Regions from separate parts of the Homo sapiens genome. Here regions 2, 3 and 4 are each linked to region 1. Evidence: promoter capture Hi-C in human tissues and cell types (Jung and others, 2019). All regions are on one chromosome and are shown on one strand. Each heading gives the region's core, a stretch centred on a gene start or on the middle of the fragment in contact. The rest is flanking DNA. Distances are from core to core; before and after follow the strand shown. Region 1 holds the start of CAMK2B (calcium/calmodulin dependent protein kinase II beta). Region 2 overlaps NUDCD3 (NudC domain containing 3). Region 3 has its middle 14 kb from the start of DDX56. Region 4 has its middle 4.7 kb from the start of NUDCD3.

What was found. The method cuts DNA at HindIII sites, captures the fragments that hold promoters and counts their contacts. A contact is called where the count stands out against the background at its distance.
Region 2: a fragment that was not itself captured here is called in contact with the fragment with the promoter of CAMK2B in region 1 in 2 of the 25 tissues and cell types used here (dorsolateral prefrontal cortex and spleen).
Region 3: a contact is called between a fragment that was not itself captured here and the fragment with the promoter of CAMK2B in region 1, in 2 of the 25 tissues and cell types used here (H1 embryonic stem cells and dorsolateral prefrontal cortex).
Region 4: a contact is called between a fragment that was not itself captured here and the fragment with the promoter of CAMK2B in region 1, in 1 of the 25 tissues and cell types used here (dorsolateral prefrontal cortex).

Annotation. Positions count from the first base shown.
Region 1 is chr7:44,323,555-44,326,901 of GRCh38, reverse strand. CAMK2B (calcium/calmodulin dependent protein kinase II beta) reads left to right here and starts at 1,308. Exons shown (of 24, transcript NM_001220.5): 1 at 1,308-1,545. The coding sequence starts at 1,481. The HindIII fragment of the contact is 12,993 bases long and covers 1-3,347 here.
Region 2 is chr7:44,457,388-44,460,435 of GRCh38, reverse strand. All of the region lies in intron 2 of NUDCD3 (NudC domain containing 3), which reads left to right. Among named protein-coding and RNA genes, the nearest start is that of NUDCD3, 32 kb to the left of the region's middle. The HindIII fragment of the contact is 5,507 bases long and covers 1-3,048 here.
Region 3 is chr7:44,558,867-44,561,936 of GRCh38, reverse strand. No RefSeq gene overlaps it. Among named protein-coding and RNA genes, the nearest start is that of DDX56, 14 kb to the left of the region's middle. RefSeq lists an enhancer at 1-580. The HindIII fragment of the contact is 3,931 bases long and covers 1-3,070 here.
Region 4 is chr7:44,493,861-44,496,924 of GRCh38, reverse strand. No RefSeq gene overlaps it. Among named protein-coding and RNA genes, the nearest start is that of NUDCD3, 4.7 kb to the right of the region's middle. The HindIII fragment of the contact is 7,594 bases long and covers 1-3,064 here.

The DNA of each region.
Region 1 (3,347 bases), core at 59-2,558:
CCACATGACATTTATTGTGGCTTCTGGGGCTTGCCCTGGGCTGGCCACGAGGTGAGAGGGATGAGCAGGATAGGCCCAGAATTGGTCCTTGGGGAGCAGTAAGGAAGTCATATCAGGGCAGCAGCGTGACCCAAATCCAGAGCTGGCTGCTGGAAACCCCCTCCTCAGAGCCTGCCCAGGATGGACCCCGTCAGAGAAGAGTGTGGGGATGCTGGAGCCCAGTGGTCTAAAGTCCCGGTTCTGGACAGCAGCCCTGGTGCCAGGCCTCAGGGAAGGCTGTTTTGTGGGAAACCGGGTCGCCCTGCCTCCTGCCTGCCTCCCTGCACTCTCCTCCTCCTTGGCTGCTTTCAGGAGGGGGTTGGGGTGTGTGGGCCCTCCTCCTCCAGGCAAAAGCAGGGGGCAGGCAGGTGGACCGTGCTGGAAAAGGAGAGAATGTGCACCTTTACCTGATCAGGGTGGCTGTGAGCTCTCAGGCCCCCCAAATTGCTGGTGGAGCAGCCCCTGTTCCCCTGGCTCAGGGTCCGTTGGTCTGGACTCCGAATGTTGCCTCCTGGGACCTCCATTCCAGACAACCCAGCAACCAGTCTTTGGAGAAGTGAGGGGGAAGGGAGGGGCTGGGGCCAAGGGGAGGGGGCAGGCCCCACCCTTTCACTTTCTCATGCTAGTGACCCAGTGTGTACACTGCCTTCTGGGCGGTTCCTCCTGGCCAGGCAGCCTTTGGGGCATGTGTGGCTGATGGAGACTGGGCAGAAGGGATCTGGCAGCATCTCTTCCTGAGGGTGTGAGGAATGAGTCCTGTGGAGGGCAGCACATGAGCCCTCTACCTCCATGTGGGCCCCAGTCCCCTCCTGCTGTCAGGCTAGGTGGGCCTTCGAGAGAGAGAGAGGAGGCTGCGTTCATTATGTGCACTCTTCTGTGTTATGTGAGAGCGAGGGGTCGGCAGCAGCAAGTGGCCTGCGTGCGCGAGGTGCGGGCGTGGTGCGGGTAGAGGATGAAGGCGTCAGTACAGGGCGCGGGTGTGTGTGTGGGGTGCGGGGGCGGGCGGGGGCGGGCGCGCGTGTGAGTGCAGGTGCAGGTGCAGGTGCGTTGCGGGTGCGGGGCAAGGGTGTGTGTGCAGGGCGCGTGTGCAGATGCAGGGCGCCGGTGCCCTGCGGGTGCGGGTGCAGGAGCAGCGTGTGCAGGGCGCGGGGAAGGCGCGTGCAGGGGGCGGCGGGCGGGGCGGGCGCGGCGGCGGCGGCGGTGACAGCGGCGCCCGCGCCTCCCCGCGCGTAGGTGTGCGGCGCGCTCCTGGCGAGGACGGAGCGAGCAGATCTCGCGTGCGCTCGCCGCCCGGCGCAGCCCAGCCCGGCCCCCGCCTGGCGCCGCGAGCCGAGGTGTCTCCCGCGCCCGCGCCCGTGTCGCCGCCGTGCCCGCGAGCGGGAGCCGGAGTCGCCGCCGCCCGAGCGCAGCCGAGCGCACGCCGAGCCCGTCCGCCGCCGCCATGGCCACCACGGTGACCTGCACCCGCTTCACCGACGAGTACCAGCTCTACGAGGATATTGGCAAGTAAGAGCAGCGGCGCGCGCGGGCTGGGCCGGGGACCCCAGAGGGCCGGGACCTCCGGGACCCTCCGCGCCGCCGGCTCCAGGCGCACTGCGGGCCCGCGCGCCGCCGGCTTCTCTGGGCTCCGGGCCCAAGCGCACGGCCCCGCGCGGCCCCGACCCGCGAGCCCCCGGCCCCGGGCCTGGCTGCCTGACCTCAGCGCGCGCGGCCCTGCCCAGCTCTGCCCAGCGCGGCTGCCGGGCCGGGGCTCCGGGCTCGCGACTTGGCGCGGCGGGGGCGGCAGCAGGTGTCCCCGGAGCGCCCGGCAGACGTGACGCATTTGGCGGCGGGGAGGTCAGAGAGGAGGGGCGCGCGGGGGTGGCCCCCGGGCCTGGAGCGCCGGGAGGGGTCGGCTGCGGCCCCAGAGGGTCGTCCCCGACGCGGGTGCGCTGTCCCCACCCCCACCCGAGCGGCAGGCGGCGGGGGTGGCGGGACCTGCTTGCGCCTGCTCCTGCGCGTGGCCCCATCCGCGCTGGGGGTGCCGGCGTGGGAGAGCCTCTGCTGTAGGTCCCCTGGGGAATCTGGGTTCTGGAGGATTTTCCCCCAGATTCTTCTGGAAACAGGAATTTGGAGGTGTGGGGAGGACGAGGTCAGGGAGCCTGGATCAGGTCATGGGGATAGCGGGGAGAGACTAAGAGCCTGACTGGATTGCAAATTTCAGGGTCATCGAGGTGGATGGGGGCTGGATTTTGGACTGTTGGCGGGGGCGCCCTAAAGGGGAAGGGGCTTTGAAGGTTTGTTTGAAGTGGGACCTCACGGGGAACAGGTGCTGTGGCTCCCGTTCTCTCCTTGGCAGTATGAGCAGTGTAGGGCGAAGGTCTGGTTCGTGGTCCCCGGACCCGGCTTTGCCCCTGGGGTGAGATGGGGAGCGCCTCAGGGGCCTCCTGTCTGGCCTGGGGTCTCCCGTTCTGAGAATCAAGGTGGCTGCACCTGGCATCCCTAGGGCTAGCTTCAGAACTCCTGAATCTCCAGCCTGACTGGGCCAGAGCCCCATCCTCCTGCGTCCTCCCCCATCCTCCTCCGTCCCTTCAGTGCAGGCGGTGGGGGCGCTGGCGGTGCTGGCGAGATTTCCTCTTACACATCCAGCAACAGATCCTTTTTTTCCTTTACTAAATAAGTGTCTGGTGAAACCTTGTGGTGGGTGAGGGACGCTGATCATTGATAATTGTGGAGTGCGGAGCTGGAGGAGTGTGGGGGTGTGTTCATTCCCCACTTCTCCCTGCACGTGTGGAGAGAATTCTGGTAGGGGTTAGGGATGTGGAGCCCAGCCCTGCAAGAAGCCCATGCTGGATGGGTGGGGTGGGGGGCCAGGCTGGCTGGGGGACCCTTCCTTGGGTGGATCTGGAGAGCACCACAGGGCTGAGACCTCGAGGGAGAGGGCGAGCCCAGCCCCCTTCATGCGGATCCCTGAGTGGGTGGCTGGCTCCCCGGTCTTCACCCCTCAGATGCACCGATCTACCCCCGTCTGTCCTCTTGGCCTCCAGAGGTGTCCTGGCCACTGGAGGGGCAGGTGGGTGGCAGTTAATGTGCCTGGTTCTCTGAGGAAGAGAGCAACAGTGGGAAGTCAGTCTTTCCTCAGGAGCCTTCTTGTTGTCTTTTCTGCTTGCGCTCAGAAGCACAGAGGCCCTCACAGCAGGTGTCCCTGGTCTTCTCCAAAGAAGCCACTTTCAAGACCTCCCCATGTGCACCCAGTGTCCTCAGACTGCAGCTCACTCTGGCTGTTCCTTCTTCCCTTTGCTGCGAGCCTCCCTGCGTCCAGCGGCAGT
Region 2 (3,048 bases), core at 544-3,043, 130 kb before region 1:
GCCTTATATGCTTTCCTTCCTAGGGCAGGCCGTACTTAGTCATACCAGGTAAGAAATATGTTTTAAAATTTTAGTTAAACAGTTATGATGATAGCTTATAGTTTACTTTGCATTTCTTTATTTATAGAAAGATTACATTTTCTACACAGTGATTTACTGTTGTTATTTCCTACTTTGTTAACTCATTAACTCCACTTACTCATTGATGGGAGTCTGGATATTATCCTTCTGTAGTTTTACAAATCCTCACATTTTCTTATTCACTGCTTTTCTTCTATCAGTTGATTCACTGAATTTAGTGTGGGGATTTTACCACATCGATACTGCCTTCAGTGATTTTCTTTATGTTAGATTTTAGAAATTTCTCTCTGCTTTAATGTTGTAGGCTAAATATACCATTCCATTGTCTACTAAAGGGCTCAAGACTGTTCTTTAATATTGTTTGATTTCTTTAAAATGAATTCCACTGTGACTTGATCAAGTTTTGTATTATACCACTTGGGGACTTTAATTGATATTATGTTAAAACTCCATATTAACTTGAAGAGTATGATCAGTTTTGTTCTCGTTAAATTTTCCTGTTAAAAGGAAGCATATCATTCTATTGTTGGTGGCTTCCTTTTTTCTGTCATTAAATTCAGTTACAGAAAGTTGCCCTCAAGAATTATATACAAATCTCATGTGTCCTCAGATCCATTAGTAGCCATACAGTTAATGTTTGTGTTGCTTTTAGCAATGGTATCTTCTTCTCCACCATATGTTATAGATGTGTGACAGTTAGGAAAGCAGTTGTTTAATTAATTACAAAAGTAATTTGGAAAATTTGGAAAATAGAATTATCCAGTTCTATCACTATTATTACCTTGTTCAATTTTCTTCTGATTAAAACAATTATATTTGCTAGTTCTTTATTAGACAATTATAATATTAGAAAATACATGACCACAGGTCTAGGCATGGTGGCTTATTCCTGTAATCCCAACACTTCAAGAGGCCGAGGCAGAAGGATTGCATGAGCCCAGGAGTTCCAGACCAGCCTGGGCAACATAGTGAGATCCCGTCTTGAAAAATTAGCCAGGCATGGTGGTGCATGCCTATAGTCCCAGCTATTCAGGGGGCCGAGATGGGAGAATTGCTTGAGCCCTGTAGGTCAAGGCTACAGTGGGCCATGATCGTGCCACTGCACTCAGCCTGGGCAACCAAGTGAGGCCCTGTCTCAAAAAAAAAAAAAAGAAAAAATTAAGAAAAATCCATCTACAATAGAATATATATAAAAAAATACTTAGGAATAAATTTTTAAAACTCCAAAACTAATAATACTCCCAAAACAACACAACATTGTTGAAAGGAATTTCTTCTTTATAATCCTGCAGCCATTGTCAATATACTGTGAGATGTCCTTGCACACCTTTCTCCAGGCTCATACACATGCTTGTATGTATGCATACACATCACCACACACACACACACACACACACACACACACACACACACACACAGCACTCCCCGTCTAATCCTGCAGCCAGTGTCAGTATACTGAGATGTGTCCTTGCACACCTTTCTCCAGGCTCATACACATGCTTGTATGCATGCACACACATCACACCAAGTGCACATGGCACACCATACCAGACACATGTACGGTTTTAAAAACTTGAGATATAGTTCACGTATCTTAAAATTTGTACTTTAACATGTACAATTCAGTGCTTTTCACATATTTACAAGGTTGTATAACTACCACTATTATCTAATTCCAGAACTTTTTTTTTCCCCCGAGACAGAGTTTCGCTCTTGTTGCGCAGGCTGGAGTGCAATTTCACAATCTCAGCTCACTGCAACCTCCGCCTCCCAGGTTCAAGTGATTCTCCTGCCTCAGCCTCCCAAGTAGCTGGAATTACAGGCATGCTCACCATGCCTGGCTAATTTTTTGTATTTAATAGAGACGGGGTTTCACCATGTTGGTCAGGCTAGTCACAAACTTCTGACCTCAGGTGATCCACCTGCCTCAGCCTCCCAAAGTGCTGAGTTTACAGGTGTGAGCCACCATGTCTGGCCCCAGAACATTTTTATTACCTGAAAAAGAACTTTGTATGCATTAGCATTCACTCCTCATTTTCTCTCAAACCTCCCAGCCCTAGGCAATTACCAGTCTACTTTGCCTTTGTAGATTTGCCAATTCTGACATTTCATATAAATGGAATAATACATTATGTGGCCTTTGTGTCTGGCTTTTCTCACTTAATGGAGTGTTTTCAGGATTCATCCATGTTGTAGCATTTATCAGTACTTCATTCCTTTTACTGACAGAATAATATTTTATTGTATGGACATACTTCATTTTGTTTATTCATCGGTTGGTGGACAGTTGGATTGCTATTATGAGGAATAGTGCTATGAACATTTGTATACAAGCTTTTGTGTAGACATATATGTTCATTTGTCTTAGGTATATACCTAGGAGTATAAATGCTGGGTCCTGTTAAACTGTATGTTTAACCTTTTGAGGAAGTGCCAGGCTGTTTTCCAAAGCAGTTCCACCATTGTACACCAGCAATCTATGGGGATTCCAATTCCTTCACATCCTTGCCAAAACTTATCTATTTTTTTTGATTGTGGCTATTCTAGTGGGCATGAAGTGGGATCTCATTGTAGTTTCCATGTGCATTTTCTAGTAACTAAAAATGTGTATTTTTTCATGTGCGTTATTGGCTATTTGTATATCTTTGGAGAAATAACTATTCAAACTCTTTAACCATCTTTATGTAGTCTACATACAAGTCCTGTATTACATATATAATTTACAAATATGTTTTCCCATTAGTTTCGTAGTTTAAAACATGTATTCCTAAGTATTTTATTCTTTTTTGAGTCTATTGTAGATGGAATATTTCTTAATTTCATTTTCAGATTGTTCATTGCTAGTTTATAGGAATACAATAGATTTTTGTATAGTGATCTTGTAACCTGCAGCTTTGCTAAATTTGTTTATTAATGCATAGTTTTTAGTGGATTCCTTAGGATTTTCTATATACAAGATCTTTTCAT
Region 3 (3,070 bases), core at 199-2,698, 230 kb before region 1:
CACCACGCAGCATCCTGCTGTGGCTCGCCTCAATGTCCCAGGTGCTCTGTGGGCACAGTGGCCAGGTCAGACCATGATGGCCACTTTCTGACTGTATGGTCTCATACAGGGAAGGCATGTCACTTTTCTTGGCCTTCTCTAGGTTCTCACCTGTAAGTGGGGGTAAAATGTCCCCTCCAAGGGTTCCTGTAGGGGCCGAAGTGGCTCAGGCACCTGGCACGCCTGTTGCAGCCCAGCTCTGTGCTAGCACCTCCCAATGCCTGTTGAATCCACCATTGCCTTCTGGGACGTGTCTCCATACTTCCACGAGAATACGTCTAGGGCACAGCCTGGGGTTCTGCATTTGAGTTCTCACCTCCGTCCCAGGTGAGCCCAAAGGTGCTGGTCTCTAGTCCACATTTGAGAGGCAAGGCTTTAATATCCACCACACACATTTATTTTGCAGATTGGCAAAAGCTTAGATTAACTAGCCAGCCCAATGTCACTTGGCTAAGTGGTAGAGGGGAGGTGCTGTGTCTGTCAGACTCTAGTCTGGAATTGGAGGTGGGATACCTAGGTTCAAGTCCTGGATATGAAACTTCCCTGTCACATCCCTTCTCTGAGCCCAACACTTAATCCGAAAGTCATGGTGACGTGGGAGGCCAGGTAAAGTAGGAGATGTCTAGCTAGATTGGAATTTCAAATAATGAGGAATTTTACAGCATAACCGTGTCCTGTCCAATATTTGGGACATATGCTAAAACAGATATTCACTGTTTCTCTGAAATTCCAGTATAGCTGGGCATCCTGCTTTTTATTTGCTAAATGTGCAACCCTAGGTTGTGAGACCTCTCTGACCCACGCGTGGCCTCCTCCAGGAAGTCTTCCTGAGCGCCAGCCTGGGCTGGGCATCCTCCTCTGTGTGTCTGATGCTGCTCTGACCTCATGAAGCTCTAATTGCTGGGGCCTGTCCCCACCTTGATGTGGGAGCTCTTCGGAGGCAAGGACCATGCCAAGTTGCATATCTGTGTGTTCCTGAGTCCAGTGGTTCATTAAAAGCTTTTCCCTGAGAGTATCCTTAATGCCCCGGAGGTAATTCTCTTTTCACAACCTTTCTACTGCCTGAGGCTCTTGAGGACTAATTCCAGTTAAAAGCAGAGGGAAGGATGTGGTAGGAATAGCACCGCATGGAGCTGGACTCTGTGCCCCCCGTGCAGCAGGCAGGACCCTCCCTCTGTGTCACCTCCATGACTCAGGGCTCAGACAGGAAGCCCTCATCCTCGTCCTCCACGGGTCTCATGTTTGTCAAGGCCAGGGGTATCAGGCGTAGTAGGCAGGGGCCCATGCCTGCTCCCATCTGGGAGACCCTGCTTCAGGCCCCTCTCATGGCCCCTTTTGTTCCCCACAGCTCACTGTACAACTTGTTGGTTCAAGGTTAGAAAATGCAGTTTTGTGTTGAGGGGGACCATCACAGAAGACAAAGGGTCCAGGATGAAGGCTACCCATCAGCTTGCAGGGCTGGGACGAATGTGAGAAGCAACTGATGCTTGTACAGTAGAGAGTAAGCATGTAGGGCCAGTCCCCAGACCTTGCCTCCCCTCAGCCTTGACATGTGATCTCCATTTCTGGTGGCTACCCCTGCTAGTGGTCTGGCTTCACCATCTTAGCCCTGCCCAGGCTAAGACCCTCTTCCATCAGAACCTGCAGCTGGGATGCTGGGAGCAACAGTCAGGGCAGAGCTGCCCATCCTCCCATTCAGGGAGCCCTCAGGAAGTACTTGGGACCCCCCGACCCTTTATAGATTCAGCCTGCCTCATCCCCTCCATGGACCAACACGCCCTTCTCCTCAGCAGTGGGCTGGGGGACCAGGCTCCTGAACTGCTTGTGGCTGTTCCAGCAGTGGGGAGATGGAGGGTCACACAGTCCTGAGTCTATGGCTTTGACAGCAACGGGTCCTGACTGCAGCTGTATTCGTGAAGCGAAGTACCTAATACAATCACCGAAATGTACAAATTGGACCCCTATAGGTTCAAGGATTCTTGGTGTAGGAGGTATGGCCCCCGCCCCGGGAACCAGGACCTCAGCTTTTAGAAGCAAAATGCATGAATGCAGTGATGGTTAGGCCAAGTGCCAAGGGAGACAGCCAACCCCTGCTATCATGGCCAGAGGAGGGAGAGACCACTCAGGCCTGGGTGGTGGTAGAAATCCTCACTGCCAAGGAGATTGTATGCGCAGGCGTTGGGAAGGCCCGGAGAAGCCTGAGAGACAGGCTTGGCTTGGTTATAGCAGAGCTGGGTGGAGGGAGCAGATTAGTTGGCTTAGCACAGGCTTCCTGCAGGGTGGTGGTTCTTGGCCAGATTTGCCCCAGTGGGGCTTTTGGGAAAGTATAGAAATATTGTTGTTTTTTTTTTTTTGAGACAGAGTCTTGCTCCGTTGCCCAGGCTGGAGTGCAGTGGTGTGTTCTTGGCTCACTACAACCTCCATCCACCTCCCGGGTTCAAGTGATTCTCCTGCCTCAGCCTGCCAAGTAGTTGGGACTACAGGCATGTGCCACCACACCCAGCTAATCTTTGTATTTTTAGGAGATGGGGTTTCACCATGTTGGCCAGGCTGGTCATGAACTCCTAACCTCAAGTGATCTGCCCGCCTCAGCCTCCCAAAGTGCTGGGATTACAGGTGTGAGCCACTGTGCCAGCCAAGAAACATTTTAGGTTATCATATCTGGGCAATGGATGCTACTGGCTTTAGGTGGGAAGAGGCCGGGGATACTGTTAAAATCATGCAATGTACAAGGCAGCCCCCACAAGAGAGTTCTGTGGTTGAAAATGTCCGTAGTGTTGAGGTTGAGGACTCTGCTGTGGGGCAACAGTAGGAGAAGGGGTGCTAATAGTCAGGTGGTGGACAGCAGGGAATTACAGGTACATCAGTTAGGAGTGTATACAGCTGCAAGTAAGAGACCACCAGATGGCAGGAACAGTGGGAACAGAATGGTTTATCTTTTTCATGTGTCAAGATAAGTGGTGCTAAAGTCAGGCATGGTGGCCCTCACTTATAATCCCAGCAATTCAGGAGGCTGAAGAGTGAGGATCAC
Region 4 (3,064 bases), core at 550-3,049, 170 kb before region 1:
AATAAATAAAATACAATTTTTAAGAGTACATTTTAAAATAAGTTTTAGATTTCCAAAATAAATTGCAAAGAGACTACAGAGTTCCTGTATAGCTCACATCCAGTTTACCCTATTATTAACTTATTACATTAGTATGGTTCATTTTTCACAATTAATAAATACTGATAATTACTACTAACTAAAGTGCCTACTTTATTTTGACTTCCTTAATTTTTACCTAATGTCCTTTTTCTGTTCCAGGATCCTACCCAGGACCCCACATGATATTTAGTTGTCAGGTCACCTTAGGCTCTTCTTGGTTGTGACAGTTTCTCAGGCTTTCATTGTTTTTGATGACCTTGACAGTTTTGAGGAGTACTTGTTAGGTATTTTGTAGAATGTTCCTCAAATGGGGCTTGTCCAACATTCTTCCCATGATTAGACTAGGGTTATGGGTTTTTGAGAGGAAGACCACAGAGGTAAGGTGTCATTCATAGCATATTAAAGGTGTATACTATCAAACATGACTTATCATTGTTGATGTTGACCTCGATCACCTGGCTGAGGTCATCCTCGTCAGGTTTCTCCCCTTTCCACGCTCTACCATTAGGAAGAGTCACTACATGTATCCTAGACATAAGAAGTAGGGAGTCATGCTCCACCTCCTTGAGGGCAGACTAGCTACATAAATAACTGGGAATTCTTCTGAACAGAAAATGTGTCTATTTTCTTCCATTTCTTTATTCAGTATGAGAAATATCTCTATATATCATATAGGTATGTATATATCAATATATTTATATGTATATCGGTATGGACTCACAGGTATTTGTTTTATATTTTGGGTTCTAATATAATAATACCTTATTTTGCTGCTCAAATTGTTCCAGCTTTGGCCATTGGAAGCGCTTTCCTTTGTCATACCCCCATCATTGTGTGGTTTTTTTTTTCTTTGCACTTCCTTTACTTTGAGACACCACCCACAAGATGCTCCAGGCGCATCTTGTATATTTTCTGTGCCAGTCCTAGAATCAGCCATTTCTCCAAGAAGCCCTGGTTCCTTCTATTGGAGAATATCAGAAACCAAGATCTGGGTGGAAGGTATGCTCGTTGTTACTGAAGCATTGTTGCTTCTAGACCTTCTCAGCTGAGAGCAAGTAAATACATGTATGTACACTCACCTGCATATATACACATTTCTGTAAACAGTTCTACACATAGCCATCTGTATCTATAAGGATGAATTTCTAACTCTGATCTATTACCACATGGATCATTCTAGCCTCCTTCCCCGCTTATTTATAACTCTCTCACTCCACCAGTGAGAAACCTGGATCCCACCACCCTCCACCATTTACTTAATTGCTCATTTCCACTATACATATCTAGCGGTTTCAGAATTGATAACCCATACCCCTGTTAGGAATAATTGTATCAACTAGATTTCAGTGTTTATATACAGTTCCTTTTGTCTTTAGTCTTACAGACTCTGCTCATTTCCAAAGTTACTTAGGACAGCATCTCTTTCTATCATCCCTTCAGTGAGGTTGTTTCATACATCTGTGACACAGTTAGATTGTTTTGTCACATTCTGCAACCCATTCTGGGATCCCCCAATCTCCTAAGTGATTTTTTAAAAGACTGCCTATATTAAGGTTTACTCTTGGTGCTATAAATTTCTATGGGTTTTGACAAATGTGTAGTGTCACGTATCTATCATTATTACTACTAATTATTATTATTAATAATTATTACTATTAATTACTAATTATTACTATTAATTACTAATTACTAATTATTGCTATTATTACTAATAATTACTATTAATAATTATTACTATTAATAATTATTACTATCATTATTCTATGATAGTAATTACTATCATATAGAATAATTTTACATCCTAAAAAATTCCCTGTGCATCATTCAACCTTTTTTTCACACGCAGACCCTGACAACCACTGATCTTTTACTGTTTCTACATTTTGCATTTTTCAGAATGTCATATAATTGGGTGGTAGCATTTTTTGAGTGGTTTCTATCTCTTAGCAATACGCATTTAAGATTAAGCCATATCTTTTTATTGATTGACAGCTTATTCCTTCTTACTGCTGAAAACAGTACTTCATTCTATGAATGTACTACCTTTCGTTTATCCAGTACCTGTTGACGGCACCTGGTTGCTTCCCATTTTTGGCAATTTTGAGTAAAGCTGCAATAAACATTTGCATGTAGATTTCTGTATGGACATAGTTTTCAAATAAGCTGGGTAAATACATAAGAGCATGATTGCTGGACTGTGTTATGACATTATGTTTAGCTTTCCATTCAATTTAAAAGATATTTTGGCCGGGCACGGTGGCTCACGCCTGTAATCCCAGCACTTTGGGAGGCTGAGGCGGGTGGATCACAAGGTCAGGAGATCGAGACCATCCTGTGAATGGTGAAACCCCGTCTCTACTAAAAATTCAAAAAATTAGCCGGGTGTGGTGGCGGGCACCTGTAGTCCCAGCTACTCGGGAGGCTGAGGCGGGAGAATGGCGTGAACCCAGGAGGCGGAGCTTGCAGTGAGCCGAGCTGAGACTGTGCCACTACACCCCAGCCTGGGCGACAGAGCGAGACTCTGTTTCAAAAAAAAAAAAAAGATATTTTATTTACTTTTTGAATAGGTAATGCATGTATATGGTATCAAATACAAAAGTAAGTTTTTCTCCTGTTTTATAGTGTTTCCCTCAATTTCCCTTCTCCAGATGCAGCGTCTGTTCCATTTCTTCCTTTAGGTGCTAAAGAAAATTATTCAAAACTTTGAATATAGCAAGAAGATGACTGCATGTGCTTCCAGTTATACTGAGGAATTATATAACAGGCTCACCCGAGATTCATTAATTCTCTAGGGCAGTGATTCTCAGAGTGTAGTATGTGGCCCTGGGGGGCCTCCAAGGTAAAAATAACAATACTATGATGTTATTTGCTTTTTTACCATGTTGACATTTGCAATGATGGTGCAAAAGCAATGGCAGGTAAAACTGCAAGTGTCTCAGCAGGAATCAAGGCAGGCCATTGTCCTAGCTTCCTGCTGTCACAA